2 separate regions of the Homo sapiens genome follow, and region 2 is linked to region 1. The links are contacts of gene promoters, found by promoter capture Hi-C in blood cells and fetal thymus (Javierre and others, 2016). All regions are on one chromosome and are shown on one strand. Each heading gives the region's core, a stretch centred on a gene start or on the middle of the fragment in contact. The rest is flanking DNA. Distances are from core to core; before and after follow the strand shown.

Evidence for each region. The method cuts DNA at HindIII sites, captures the fragments that hold promoters and counts their contacts. A CHiCAGO score of 5 or more calls a contact.
Region 2: a contact is called between a fragment that was not itself captured here and the fragment with the promoter of LPAR1 in region 1, in 4 of 17 cell types (monocytes, M2 macrophages, M0 macrophages and 1 more). The highest score is 9.6, in monocytes.

The regions. Positions count from the first base shown.
Region 1 is chr9:111,034,240-111,041,138 of GRCh38, reverse strand. LPAR1 (lysophosphatidic acid receptor 1) reads left to right here and starts at 2,669. Exons shown (of 6, transcript NM_001351411.2): 1 at 2,669-2,972; 2 at 4,938-5,017. LOC124902248 (a long non-coding RNA gene) reads right to left here and starts at 4,211. Exons shown (of 2, transcript XR_007061732.1): 1 at 3,350-4,211; 2 at 1-1,684. RefSeq lists a silencer at 2,900-3,239. The HindIII fragment of the contact is 5,735 bases long and covers 1-4,834 here.
Region 2 is chr9:111,233,814-111,239,788 of GRCh38, reverse strand. No RefSeq gene overlaps it. Among named protein-coding and RNA genes, the nearest start is that of MIR7702, 34 kb to the left of the region's middle. The HindIII fragment of the contact is 553 bases long and covers 3,801-4,353 here.

The DNA.
Region 1 (6,899 bases), core at 1,420-3,919:
ATGTCTGAATGACAAGAGGACTACAGACAGGAGAAAACATTCAAGAAAATTTATCAAGGTATTCTTTGTTCCTGTTGAAACCTCATCATCAATGTTAGTGTCTTCAGAAGCCCACCCAAATATATTATTTTACTTTGATAAAAGACAACTTGGAACCATATAAAAGACTGCACTGGTACCATTATTCCATTTTACAGATGAGAAAAGTAGCTCATTTGGAACATAATGAGCTAGGTTTTATGGATTAATCTAGATGCTGAACTGAATTCTGTATTGTATTTCATTTTCTCTGTCCTTTTCTACTGGATGTACATACCTACATTTAATTTTAGAGTTATCGATCTAAAGCTGGCTGCAGAAGCTGTCTCATTTAGACAGGTCCACGCTTGTCAGGAAGACAGGTCTGTCCAGGCAGACCTTTCAGTTTGTTCTATATTTCATTTCAGGCCACAGCAGACCAAATAAAGAGGAAATGAAGTGTTTTATAGCAAATAACTTACTGTTGAATACACATGTCTTGTACGGACAGGCCTCCCAATTTGATGTTAGAAGGGGCCACAGAGTAGTTAAGATAGTCAAAACAGAAGCAACTGTATTCCTTAAGAAGGTAAGAGACAAAATCAACATATTAAAAATATTCAAGTTGAGTGGTAGGTAAGAAACTCCTTTTACTTTACCTTTGATTTATGGGGAAAGGCTAAACATGGAAATAATTAATTTTAAAATGTCTTTATATTAGATATAGAAGTATTGGTGTTAAGAAATCTGATAGTAAGTACAGTGTATAGGAAGAAAGAGACGGGAAAATTAGCTAATAAGTGATTTTTTGACTTGAGTAGAGCTATGGTTAAAAATATATGGAAACCTCTTTCGAGTATATTTTTTTCTTACCAATATATACTTTTTATGATACTGAGATTTTATAGTGAACATTTGCCTATTCATCCCAATATAATATTTCTTATAGTTTGGTATCAACCCCTATGATTATTTGTGAGATAAGGGAGTGGTTTGTATTCATGGGTATACATATCTATACACATTTCTGCATGCCGTACACAAACATAAGTAGCATTGTGCATGAACATATTAGCACTGTGCATGTACTAAAATTTCAATTTTTTCACATAGTAGGTTATAAAATAAATCATATATTCGTAGGAAAGGTATAGAAAGCAAAGTTATTTAAAGTGGATTTTTAAAAAAGATTTGAATGATTTTTTTTAAAAAAAAGATTAGAACCATTGTTTTTAAAAGGAAACAGCTTTAGATAGTAAATTATTTACAGCCAGGACTCAGCCCTGAGCATCCTGTGAAAACCACACGAGCTTGGTCAAGGTTCTAAGCAGTCACCGGTGGGAGATGGTCATGGTCCCGTCACAGCATAACTCACTTGAGGCTTGAAAAGTTTCCGTCCAGCTACGGTTTGCAGTGACCTTTCTCTTCTGCAAAGCCCACGGTTACCTGGTGGCCACCACCAACATAGCCCCGCCTCGCTGTCCTGCGTTTCTCTCAATCAGATCAGTCCTGCCGAGTCCCCATGCCTTACTGCTGGTGTGCTGTGTCCTCTGTGCCATTTCAAGGCGAGGGCTCATGAAACTTTTACTCACACGCTGCTATTTTTGATATGCGGTGGCCTTAGCTGTGGAGCGAGAGGCCGATAATTGTGATCACTCCGGAAATCCTGGGAAGCCAGAAGTGGGAGATGGGTGTTGTGAGGTGGCGTGGCTAGGGAGACCCCATCGAGTGGGTGTGTTATAAGACCTGGGCGAATCCCTGTGGCTGCCACTCTCCTGAGAATGTTCCCTAGGCCTTAGTCCCGCGCCGCTCCCACCCACACCTCCAGGTGTGCAGTCCCCGCCCTTAATTACTCTCACTAAAATTGATAGTTTACACTTGCAAAGCTACACTGGGAAAGCGGAAGAGAAATTTATAATCGTGGATATGGAGAACTAGGGGAGCAGACACACTTGCTTTCGTTTACAGATCCAGTGAAGTGAAAAATCAGAACTAGAAACGTATGCACCTTCCTAGCAGCAAAGCCGCTTCTGCGTTCTTCGCAGCCTCCAGTGCAGGGCGGCGCTGGGAGAAACTTTGCGCCTTCTGGAAAGTTTAGAAAGTGAGCCACGAAAGAGAGGCCACATTTCCGGGGTTTTGCGGGCCCCGCGATGTTTTCCAGAGCTTTTCGAGTGGGAAGAGGAGAGCGACAACGTGAAAATGCCCCGTGCCGGGGCGTCCACCGGAGTCCTGCCAGCTGTCCGGCGCTGGGGTAAGCGCAGGAGGGGCGGGGGTGGGACCCGAGCTGGCGGCCACGGGTCTCCCGCTGCGGGTGTGTCGACTCGGGGGCGGGGCGGGGGAGGCTGCTGAGATAATGAATGGGAGGCTAAGGCCACCCCCCAGCCCCGGCCCTGCCACCACCGTGGGCTGTCGAGCCAATGAATGGAGGAGGGGGCGCAGAGGTCAGGGGCGCTGGGGGCGCCACACCAGGTAAGGGGTCCAGCTTGGGAGCGGGGAGGGCGGACTCTGGGGGTTCGGGTGTTGCTGACTTGTGCTACGTGGAACAAGCAGAAAAGAAGGAAGGCGGAGGAAGAGAGGAGGCTGGCGTCGGCGCTGCTCCTCTGGCCCTCCCTCTGCGCCCCCTCCTCCTGCCAGCGCGCCAAAGCCGGGCAGTAGGGGCCGACTGGCGGCTGACGCTCCCTGAGTGGCGACTCCGTCTCCAGCCCCGCTGCGGAGCGCGGGCCGGATCTGGGGCGGCCAGGGCCCGGAGCCGCGGAGCCCTCCCCGCCGCCCGGCCGAGCACGGGACCCCGGCGGGGTGGGCGCAGGGGGCGGCCCCGCTCTGGGCGACTGCCGAGGGGCGGGCGGAGGGCCGGGCTCGGCTGGCGGTGGGGCGGGGGCCGCCGGGACTGGGCGCGCGGCCTGAAGCCAGCCCGGGGGCGGCAGGAGAGGGACGCGCGGCGGCAGCGAGCGCAGGTAAGGGGGCCGGCGCGGCGTGTGGGGACGGCGCCCCCTGGGCGCGAAGCCAGAGGCCGCGGCGACTGCTCGGCCCGCCACACGGCGCGCTGGGCTCACACTGTCCCGCCGCGGACGGGCTTTGTGGTTGGGGGCGCGCGTGCGAGTGCCAGTGAGAGTGTGGGTGCGCGCTGTGGGCCGCGGCGCGGGTGGGTGGCCGTGCGTTCTTGCGAGCCGGCCTGCAGGAGGCGAGGCTCCCCTGGCCTCCCGCACCCAGCGGCGGACCGAGCCCCTGGAGGGAAGTTGCCGCAGCCGCCCGGGCCGCCGGCCCTCCTGTCCCGCGCCAGGTCAGTGCGCCCCGGGGCCCGCCCAGTGACACGTAGGTGGCCTCCGGTTACCTGGGTCGGGGTGGGTGCGCGGGAGGGCTTGCGAGGGGCCCTCGAAATTCTCCCAAAACCTCGTCCCGCTGGACTTGCACCTCCGAGGGGTCCCTGCGCCCCTGGGGCTCCGCACCTCTCGCTTCCCACTGACGACTCGGTTGTCCCCCACCACCGGGCTGAGGACTTTTAACTAAGTTTCTGTCCAGCCGCCTAACAAACGTGCTTAACAAGTAACAGGAGGTTGTAAGGCAAGGGAGGGACCTGGCTTTGAAAGTTGATGGTTTTGAAATCGACGGCTCCTTTGACTTGCGTAGGACTCCTTTGTGGTGAATGGATTTAAAGTTTATTCTTGTTTTTCTTTGCTGCCATTTGGTCTTTGCAATGTTAAGAGTGAAGGCATTCAGGACTTGCTGCTGCCTGCTGTCTGGGGCCTGAGGTTGTGGCTCTCCGCTTCTGCTCTCCTCTCTTCATTTTTGTTGAAATCCGTGGATTTTTTCATAAATGTGGGTGCTGGCTTGTTTCACTATGGACGCGTCGTTTCCTATGGGGTTAGATAGATATTGGTAAACATAAATATTGAAAATGTGATGATCACATATTGATGATCACAGCGAAATCCTCTATTCCTTCAGGCTCTAACAGTTTGTTTTTCACGTATTTGCATAAGTGTGTTTGCTCAGCTAAGCATAATTGGTAAGCCAGAGGTCTGTGATTCAGAGTCTGCAGTTCTGGTTAAGGGGAGACTGTACACTTGGAAAATGCGAAGTTTTTTAAGAAGTTATTCCCTTGCCGGATAGAAGAGTGGGTCCCAAGGAAAAAGGGTGTATTTTAGAGGTATGGTTATTTGAACCAAACTAAACATCATTAAAATACACAGGGAGGTAGAATGTCACCTAGTTCTTTCTGCCCTTGATTTCCATATCCCAGTAGGAGCGAGTATAATTGCCCCAAATGCAAAATTATGAATAATAATCAGCATTGTAAGTATATTAAGGTTGCATTTTTTTCTTGATACTTGTCTGATTTGAGGATAAAAACACCAAGTGGCAAGAGAAGGAGGTAGCTTGAGGCAGGAAGGCACGGGCGAGGAGCGAGGAGGGAAGGCTGGGTTGTCATCATCCGAGCCCGCAAGGTACACCACGTCCCCTAGCGGCGCGACCTCAGCCAGTCGGGTCAGCTCAGATCCTGGTCTCCGTCTCCCCATCCGGAAAATGGAAGGGGTTGGTGATCGTTGCTGTTCCTTCCAGCTTCCCAAATAGCGAGAAACCGGTGGGAGGTTATCTTATTGTGTTAGAGCAGTAGGAAAAGGTAGGAGGGGGAAGTGAGAGGTCCAGAGGGCCAGGAAGATGGAAGAAAACAAGCAACAGAGGATGCTTGGAGGAGAAAAATTCTTGAGCTGGGAGCTCATTTCCTCTTTTTTTTTTTTTTTTCCTTTCCTCAAGGGACTCAATAATACTTCCCCCACCTCAGATCAATCTCTTGTTACCTTTATTATTTAAAGCTTGTGAGTTTGCTTAGCTAATGCACTAGGGTGAGGTCAAGGTGATCCTTGCAGTCTGACTTCTACTAGGCATCACTTGACTCATTTGCATCATTGTCTCTCAAGGGAACAGCTCCTGCCCAGGTCTGTGGGCACTCAGCATGGATTTCAGTCTCCCTGTGAGTGATGGGAAAGAACTAACAGAGGTAAGAATGTAAGTGGCAGCCCTTTCGAAACTTCTATTTTTGTTCAAACCTAATATTTTCCAAAAAGTGATTTGATTTTTTTGTTGTTTCAAATTATACCGTAGGCTGCAAGGTTTTACTGAATCTATTCCATTAGTGACCTACTGGAACGTTCAAAGAATAAAAATCTCACTTGCTCAGTGTTTTTGATACACAGTGACATTCAGTCTGAAGTAAGTGATATTTAGGGCCAAGAATCATTTCAAATGCTTAGTATGGAAAGTTGCAATCTGGGCAGAATACACTGTATCATTTTCACTGGGAAGCTCCAAGTATTCAGCAGATAACAGAACTTTCAGAATTTAGTTTGAGGTCAAGATTTTAATGTCTGTGTTTGATGTGTGGCCTGTCTTCCTTTTCTTTGATGTTTTGGTATCAATATGCCTACACCCTTGAGGAACATTATTTATTGTAAAAGCTGAACTGTGATGTAATAAAAACTTAAACATAAGCTCTTGGTTTAAAGTCCAATAGTCTTCTCTGGCCTTAAGTCAGCATCATACTACTGTTTGGTTTCTTATTTTTACATATCATGTTACCCTCTTATTTAAATATCCCGGGCCAGGTGTGGTGGCTTATGCCTGTAATCTCAACACTTTGGGAGGCTGAGGCAGGACGATCGCTTGAAGCCAGGAGTTTGAGACCAACCTGGGCAACATAGTGAGACTCTGTCTCTATAAAAAAAATAGAAACATTAGCTGGGTATGGTGGCATGTGCGTGTAGTCTCAGCTACTTGGGAGGCGGAGGAGGGAGGATGGCTTCAGCCCAGGATTCAAGGCTGCAGTGAGCTGTGATTGTGCCATTGCACTACAGCCTGGGTGACAGAGAGACTCTGTCTCTTAAAAAAAAAAATCTTAGGGAAAACTATTATGGATGTCTTAGAAAGTTGAGAGAAAAGGAGGTAATTCTATTTCAGCAAACAATTATTGAATTCCTTCCATGTGGTAGATGCAAGGATGGTGAAAAGGAAGCTCCAGAAAGAACTGCAACACAGGGGGGAAAGATGCAGTGAGCCTCACGGTTCATACCGAATATGTATATGCAGTGTTGTGTAACTGGGTGGTAGCTGTAGAGTCCAAGAACTTTGGCATGCCAGGGAATGGAGAATTACGTTTTGATTCAGGGGACGAATTTATAAATGTGGCTTGAAGAATAACATATCTTTTAAAAGATGAATGGTGGGGGAATGAAGACAAAGTGAGAGTGTGGGGTGATGAAGGCTGGAAAGTTACGAAGGGACAAATTGTGGGGGACCTCTGATGTTATTTTAAGGAGTTATGCTACATGGGGATAGGGAGGCAAGGAGGAAGTATTACATAACCTCAAGATGTGGAAAGACACTGAGTAACACATATTGGGGCAGAGTGAGGGGTGCGATGATGGATGGAGGACTGGGCTTTTATTCCATTACAATCCGTGTAACTTATGGCTGCTACGTTTTAAGACACTATTGCCTGTTTACTCAAATTATATAAAGGTTGTAGAATAAACTAATAAGTAGTTTCTTCCTCCCTACTCTCCGCAAATTGATAGTGCTTTATACTTTTGAGAAATTTAATTTAGTAAAAATTAATGATGCTATTGTGTTATAGCTGGACCTTGTGGAGCCTTTTGAACATGTGGGGTTGAAGTCATTCTGCAGGCACAGAGCTGTCCAAGAAAACATTTTTTTTCCCCTCTCTTTTTTGTTTAGGGAAGGGCTTGCTGGTTAATGCTAATTTAAACATGACTCTTCTGGCAGCTGGCATTCTTGACCCTGTTTATGTTATACATGGTATTTAACCACAGTGATTGGGTATTTGCAGCACAGAAGAAAAAGAATTATTATTAGTTTGAAACCGG
Region 2 (5,975 bases), core at 2,828-5,327, 200 kb before region 1:
TTGAAAACATCAACATAATTGAGGTAAAGATCATCAACTGGCAAGAAATAAAATTAAAATTAGAGTTCATTTTTTCTACTTAGCATATTGGTAAAGATTAAAAAGTTTGAAAATACAAAATATATTTGAAGATGTAGAAAACCAGGCATAAAATATAAATTGGTGTGACTTTTTAGGAGTCATTTCATATTTTCAAACATTTCAATGTAAATTTTGACCCAGTATTTTAACTTCTAACAATGTATTCTATAAAAATAATTGGACACCGGGGCCTGTCGCGGGGTGGAGGCCTGGGAGAGGGGTAGCATTAGGAGAAATACCTAATGTAAATGACGAGTTCATGGGTGCAGCAAACCAACATGGCACGTGTATACCTATGTAAAAACCTGCACGTTGTGCACATGTACCCTAGAACCTAAAGTATAATTTAAAAAATTGGATAAATATAAAAAGATAGTAGTATAAGGATGTTGACTGTAACATTTGTGCATACGTAAGTGTCAGCAAAACTAACTAGAAACAACTTGCATAGTCTGTCTCAACATGGCACTGATTGAATAATGTACAATCATCCCTCGGTGCCCGTGGGGGATCAGTTCTTGGACCTCTTGAGGATACCAAAATCCAAGAAAATTCAAGTCCTTTATATAAAATGGTGTAGTATTTGCACACAACCCACACACATCGTCCTGTATGCTTTAAATCACCTTTAGATTACTTGTAATACCCAATACAATGTAAATGCTGTGTAAATAGTTGTATTATTTAGGGAATAGTGATGAAGAAAAAAAGTCTGCACATATTCACTACAGGTACAATCCATTCTTTTCCCTGAAAAATTTTTGATCCAAAATTGGTTGAATCCATGGGTGCAGAACACAAGGAAACAGACAGCCAATTGTATTTCATAAAATGAAATTTCATATAATAACTAAAAAATGAGACTGATTTCTGTATACTACATACTGATTTGAAAAGACTTTCCTGATGTGTTGATAACTGAAAGCAAGTTTCAGGTTTGCTCTTATGCACTTAATGTTATGTGATATATGCCATTGGGTAGAAAAAAATATGTGCTTATATAAGTACAGACAACTTCTGGGAGGATACAGAAGAAACTGTTAATAGTGATTATCTTCTGAGAACCAGACTTAAGTAAGTGAAAGAAGGAGTGGAGTTTACTTTTCACTCTATCCCTTTTCATACTTTTGGAATCCCCTACTCCCAATATTTTATTATAAGAAGCTTCAAACATACAGAAAGTTTAACAACTGTATGGTGAACACAGGAATTAAAAATAAATTTGCCAGGCCTGGTGTGGTGGCTCATGCCTATAATCCCAGCGCTTTGGGAGATAGAGAAGGGAGGATTGCTCGAGCCCAGGAGTTGGAGACCAGCCTGGGGAAGATAGTGAGACCTTGTCTCTCCCAATAAACAAACAAACAAACCACCTAGATGTTACAATTAACATTTTGCTATCCTTGCTTTATCACTAAATTTCAAAAAGCAAGATGATGAATTATTTTAAAAATATACCTAGCGGCCAGGCACAGTGGCTCACACCTGTAATCCCAGCACTTTGGGAGGCCGAGGCAGGTGGATCACCTGAGGTCAGGGGTTTGAGACCAGTCTGGCCAACATAGTGCAACGCTGTGTCTACTAAAAATACACAAAATTAGCTGGGCGTGGTGGCGGGTGCCTGTAATCCCAGCTACTAGGGAGGCTGAGGCTGGAGAATCACTTGAACCCAGGAGGCAGAGGTGGCAGTTAGCCAAGATCAAGCCATTGCACTCCAGCCTGGGCAACAAGAGCGAAACTCCATCTCAAAAAATAAATAAATATATGTGTGTGTGTGTGTGTGTGTGTGTGTGTGTGTGTGTATATATATACACACACACACACACTTAGCAAGAAAAGCATTAGCAAGAGCATAGAATAATGAAACAATAAAATAAAGTACATAAATCTGCTGAAAGAGAAAATTAAATAGGATAATGTGATAAATGTCAGCAGCTGTTAGAAGTACAAGCCCAGTGTGCAGGTCTATGCAAGAGCAAAGAAAAGGAGGCTCTGAAGCATATAGGAGGAGTTTCTGTCCTGCAGTTTCTCAGGCCTGTGGTCAAGGGAGGATGTTCCCAGAACAGGAAACCTCAGAACAGGTAGCTTTTGGCCCCATGAGAGGTTTGTGGCTGATACATGCAGTGTGGTCTCTGGACCTCTAAGCCTCTGCTTCATCAGGAAGATTTGCTGAAATGCGTTTGACCCCCAGGAGCCCTTACCTTAGCTCTCATAAAAGTGTTGCAAATCAGTTTGGATTTGGATAATGCCTAAAACAGGAGAGTTGTTTTGTTTTGTTTGTTTGTTTTTAAAAAAATTCCTAGTTATTTAACACTGAGCTATTCCTTTGTATGTAAACCTTCAATTAAAAGAAAATAGTTGGGATCCAGAAATCTAAATTTCTGAATTCTGAAATCTGAATTTTTAACAAGCACCCAAGGTGATTTCATTGCAGGCAGGTGTTGCAAATACGGTCATTTTCTAAGAATGTGGTCTATTTGGGCCTCATGAAGATCCACCTGCTCCAGGAGTCTACAACCTTGCTTTGCCAGGAATGCCTTTCTTCTCAGACAGCTAGTACTTATCTTCTAAATGAGCTTAATTACTAAATCCCTAAGGGTGTTGAACATCAAGGACTTTATCTCTTGGTGTAGATAAATTAGCTCACTGAAGTGTTGTACACCAGTTTGGACCTGGGAGGGGTCTAGAGAGAGGAAATTATTATTATTTGATACATAACATTTGTACATATTTAGGGCATACAGATGATGTTTCATTACATGTGTAGAATGAGTAATGATTAAGTCACGATATTCAGAGTATCCATCACTTGAAGTATTTATCATTTCTATATGTTGGAAACATCTCAAATCCTCTCATCTAGCTGTTTTGAAAAACACAGTATATTGTTGGTAGCTATGATTATTTTTAACTTCTTTGTTATTTAACATTGCTGCTATGCCCCTTTGTGTAAACCTTCATATGGGCATTTAATACCATCTTCTTTAACCCCTGGTTCACTGGGGTCTTCCAGATACATGCGGTTTAATTCTTCACTTTTCTAAGGGAGAAAAGTCTGCAAATCTTTTTTCCTAGTGTTTTCCTTTGGAAGCTTCGTCCCACTGTTATCACAGAGTATTTGAATTCTCATCAGTTTCCTTGTAACTTCTGTGGAATGTGCTGGTAGAACTGCAGCTGTTAGTCCTTGTACTTAGAACAGGTTTTCTTCCCCTGAAGGATTAATAAGGAGGCCAACTATTTGCAGTTGCTTCTACCCCATCTCTGACAGTTCTTTAACCCCCTGACAAGGAAGGATCTCAGAATTTCTCATTCCTTCTCAGGGTGACAATTGTTGTGAATTCTTCCTTGTCTATTCTTTTTACCTCCTCTTTTTCCATTTTAGCCTTTCAATTTGAGTTGGATTTATTTCTATGGTGGTCTATCACCTAACAGAAAACGTGGTGCACCAAGTAATGAGTAACTTAGTTTTTATTATGTTTTAAAAAATACAATAAACATTTTTTGAGCACTTTCTGTGCACTAGGCATTTGCTAAATGCTGGTGACATGGGTGAGAAAGTGGGGACAGAGGCAGCCAAGTCTCTGAAGAATCTTGACACATCCAGTTTGAGAACATCCCATCTAACAAGAAACAGCGTAAGAAAAAGCCTGGAAGTAAATTTGTAGGATGGAGACAATTCAGGTATGCTCGGGATCCAGGGTACCTGGTGAGAAATAAAAGCTTCTTTTCAGACTTGAGAGCTGGGTCAAAAATCTGAATATTACCCAATAGGAAATTATTCGTTAACCTGCTTTTAAAAGTTAAGCTATGGAGAACTCGTTCTCATGCAAAAGCACAATTATACATGATATGATGCTTCTATTTTCTTTTATAGTCAGTTTAGACAGGGAAGTGTGGGAAGGGGTGGAGATGATAAAAGAAAAAGGGAAATAAGTTCAGATTGAAAGATGGTCAGAAAATAGGAGGTATCAGCAAAGAGAAAGCTACATAGAGAAAAAGGTTGACAGATATGTTTCTTAGGGGTCTAGAACAGCATCTGGCACATAGCAGGTGCTTATGAAATGCAGTCATGTGCTGCATGACGTTGTGGTTAATGATGGTCCATGTATACTATGGTGGTCCCATAAGATTATAACAGAACTGAAAATCCCTATTGCCTAGTGACATTGTAGCCATCTTAACATGTATGCCTAGGCTAATGTTTGTATTTGTGTCTTGGTAGTTATGAAAAAAGTTTTAACAGTTAAAAAAAAAAGTTAAAAATAGAAGAAAGCTTATAGAACAAAGAAATATTTTTGTACAACTATACAAAGTGTTTTAAGCTGTGTTATTACAAGAATTGAAAAATATTAAAAAGCTTAAAGTAAAAAATGTTACAGTAAGCTAAGGGTAATTATTGAAGAAAAAAATTAAATAAATGTAATATAGCCTAAGGGTACAATGTTCATAAAGTCTGCAGCAGTGTGCAGTAACGTCCTGAGCCCTCACATTCACTCACTCAGTCACCCAGAGCAACTTCCAGCCCTGCGAGCTTTATTCATGGTAAGTACCCTAGACAAACCATTTTAAATCATTTATACCATCTATTTTTTGTTGTATTTCTTCTACGTTTACAGAAGTTTAAATGCACAAATACCATTGTGTTACAAACGCTTACAGTGTTCATTACAGTAACATGCTGTACAGGTTTGTAGCCTAGGAGCAAAAGACTCTACCATATATCCCATATGTGTAGTGGGCTATGCCATCTAGGTTTGTGGGAGTACACTTGATGATGTCCACACAACTTTCATCGGTGCCTAGCAACACATTTCTCTGAACATATCTTCATGGGTAAGCGACACATGGCTGTAGTTATTAAAGGAAAGAAATCTTATGGAGAGAAAGATAATAAAAGGGAAATAGATGGACATGCACAGGTGTATAAAGAAAAAAATGTTGAGAGAGACAACTAATGCAGATAGAAATACATACAAAAAGGAGGACATAGGGAAAGAAGGGATTGGGACTCAGGGAGGCTCATACATTTATACCAAGTACTATTGAGCAAATAATTCTTTTTATGTTCTGTGTCTTAGACACTGTGTGGAGTATGTGATGTGGACCTGGGGAGAGTCATTCAACCTTTTTGTGTTTATTTTAAAAAAATTCTGAAAGGAAATGGAATCAAATACAGTATTGTAAAATGTTGAGAAGAGCTGGGGGGTACTTGGGATTTTTGCTTTGCTAGTCTCTATATAATGTATGTTTGAAACTTTTCATAATACAAACTAAAAAAAATTTTAGAATGATTAATAATTGAGCATGGGCCCATTTAGGCCCCATTCCCTTGCACAAAGTCCCTAGAGTTAGAATTGTCAAGGTCTGGCAACAGATGGTATGTGGAAGGCAAATGGGAGAAGGTCGTGTTCACTCCAAATGTTGGTGCCCTGCTGATTAAGAGGATGATTATTCCTCATGAATTGCAGGTTTTGGAAGAAAGCTAAGTAGTTCATTTCTATTTTCCCTGATAGGGTCTCACTCTGTTGCCCAGGCTGAAGTGCTGTGGTGCGATCTCCTCTTACTGCAGGCTTGACCTCACAGGCTCAAGTGACTCTCCCCACTCAGCCTTCCAAGGAACTGGGATCACAGGCATGCACCACCATACTTGGCTAATTTTTGTATTTTTTGTAGAGACAGGGTCTCACTATGTTGCCGAGGCTGGTCTTGAACTGTTGGGGCTCAAATGATCCTCCCCACTTGGCCTTTCAAAGCGCTGGAATTACAGGTGTGAGCCACAGCGCCTGGCCGGAAGATTTTTTTATTAATGTTGGGGGAATTCTCAAGGAAATATTTGTAGACCAAAGGAAGTTTGTTCCTTATAGAATTGGGGTTTTACCAGGCACAGTGGAGAGGCT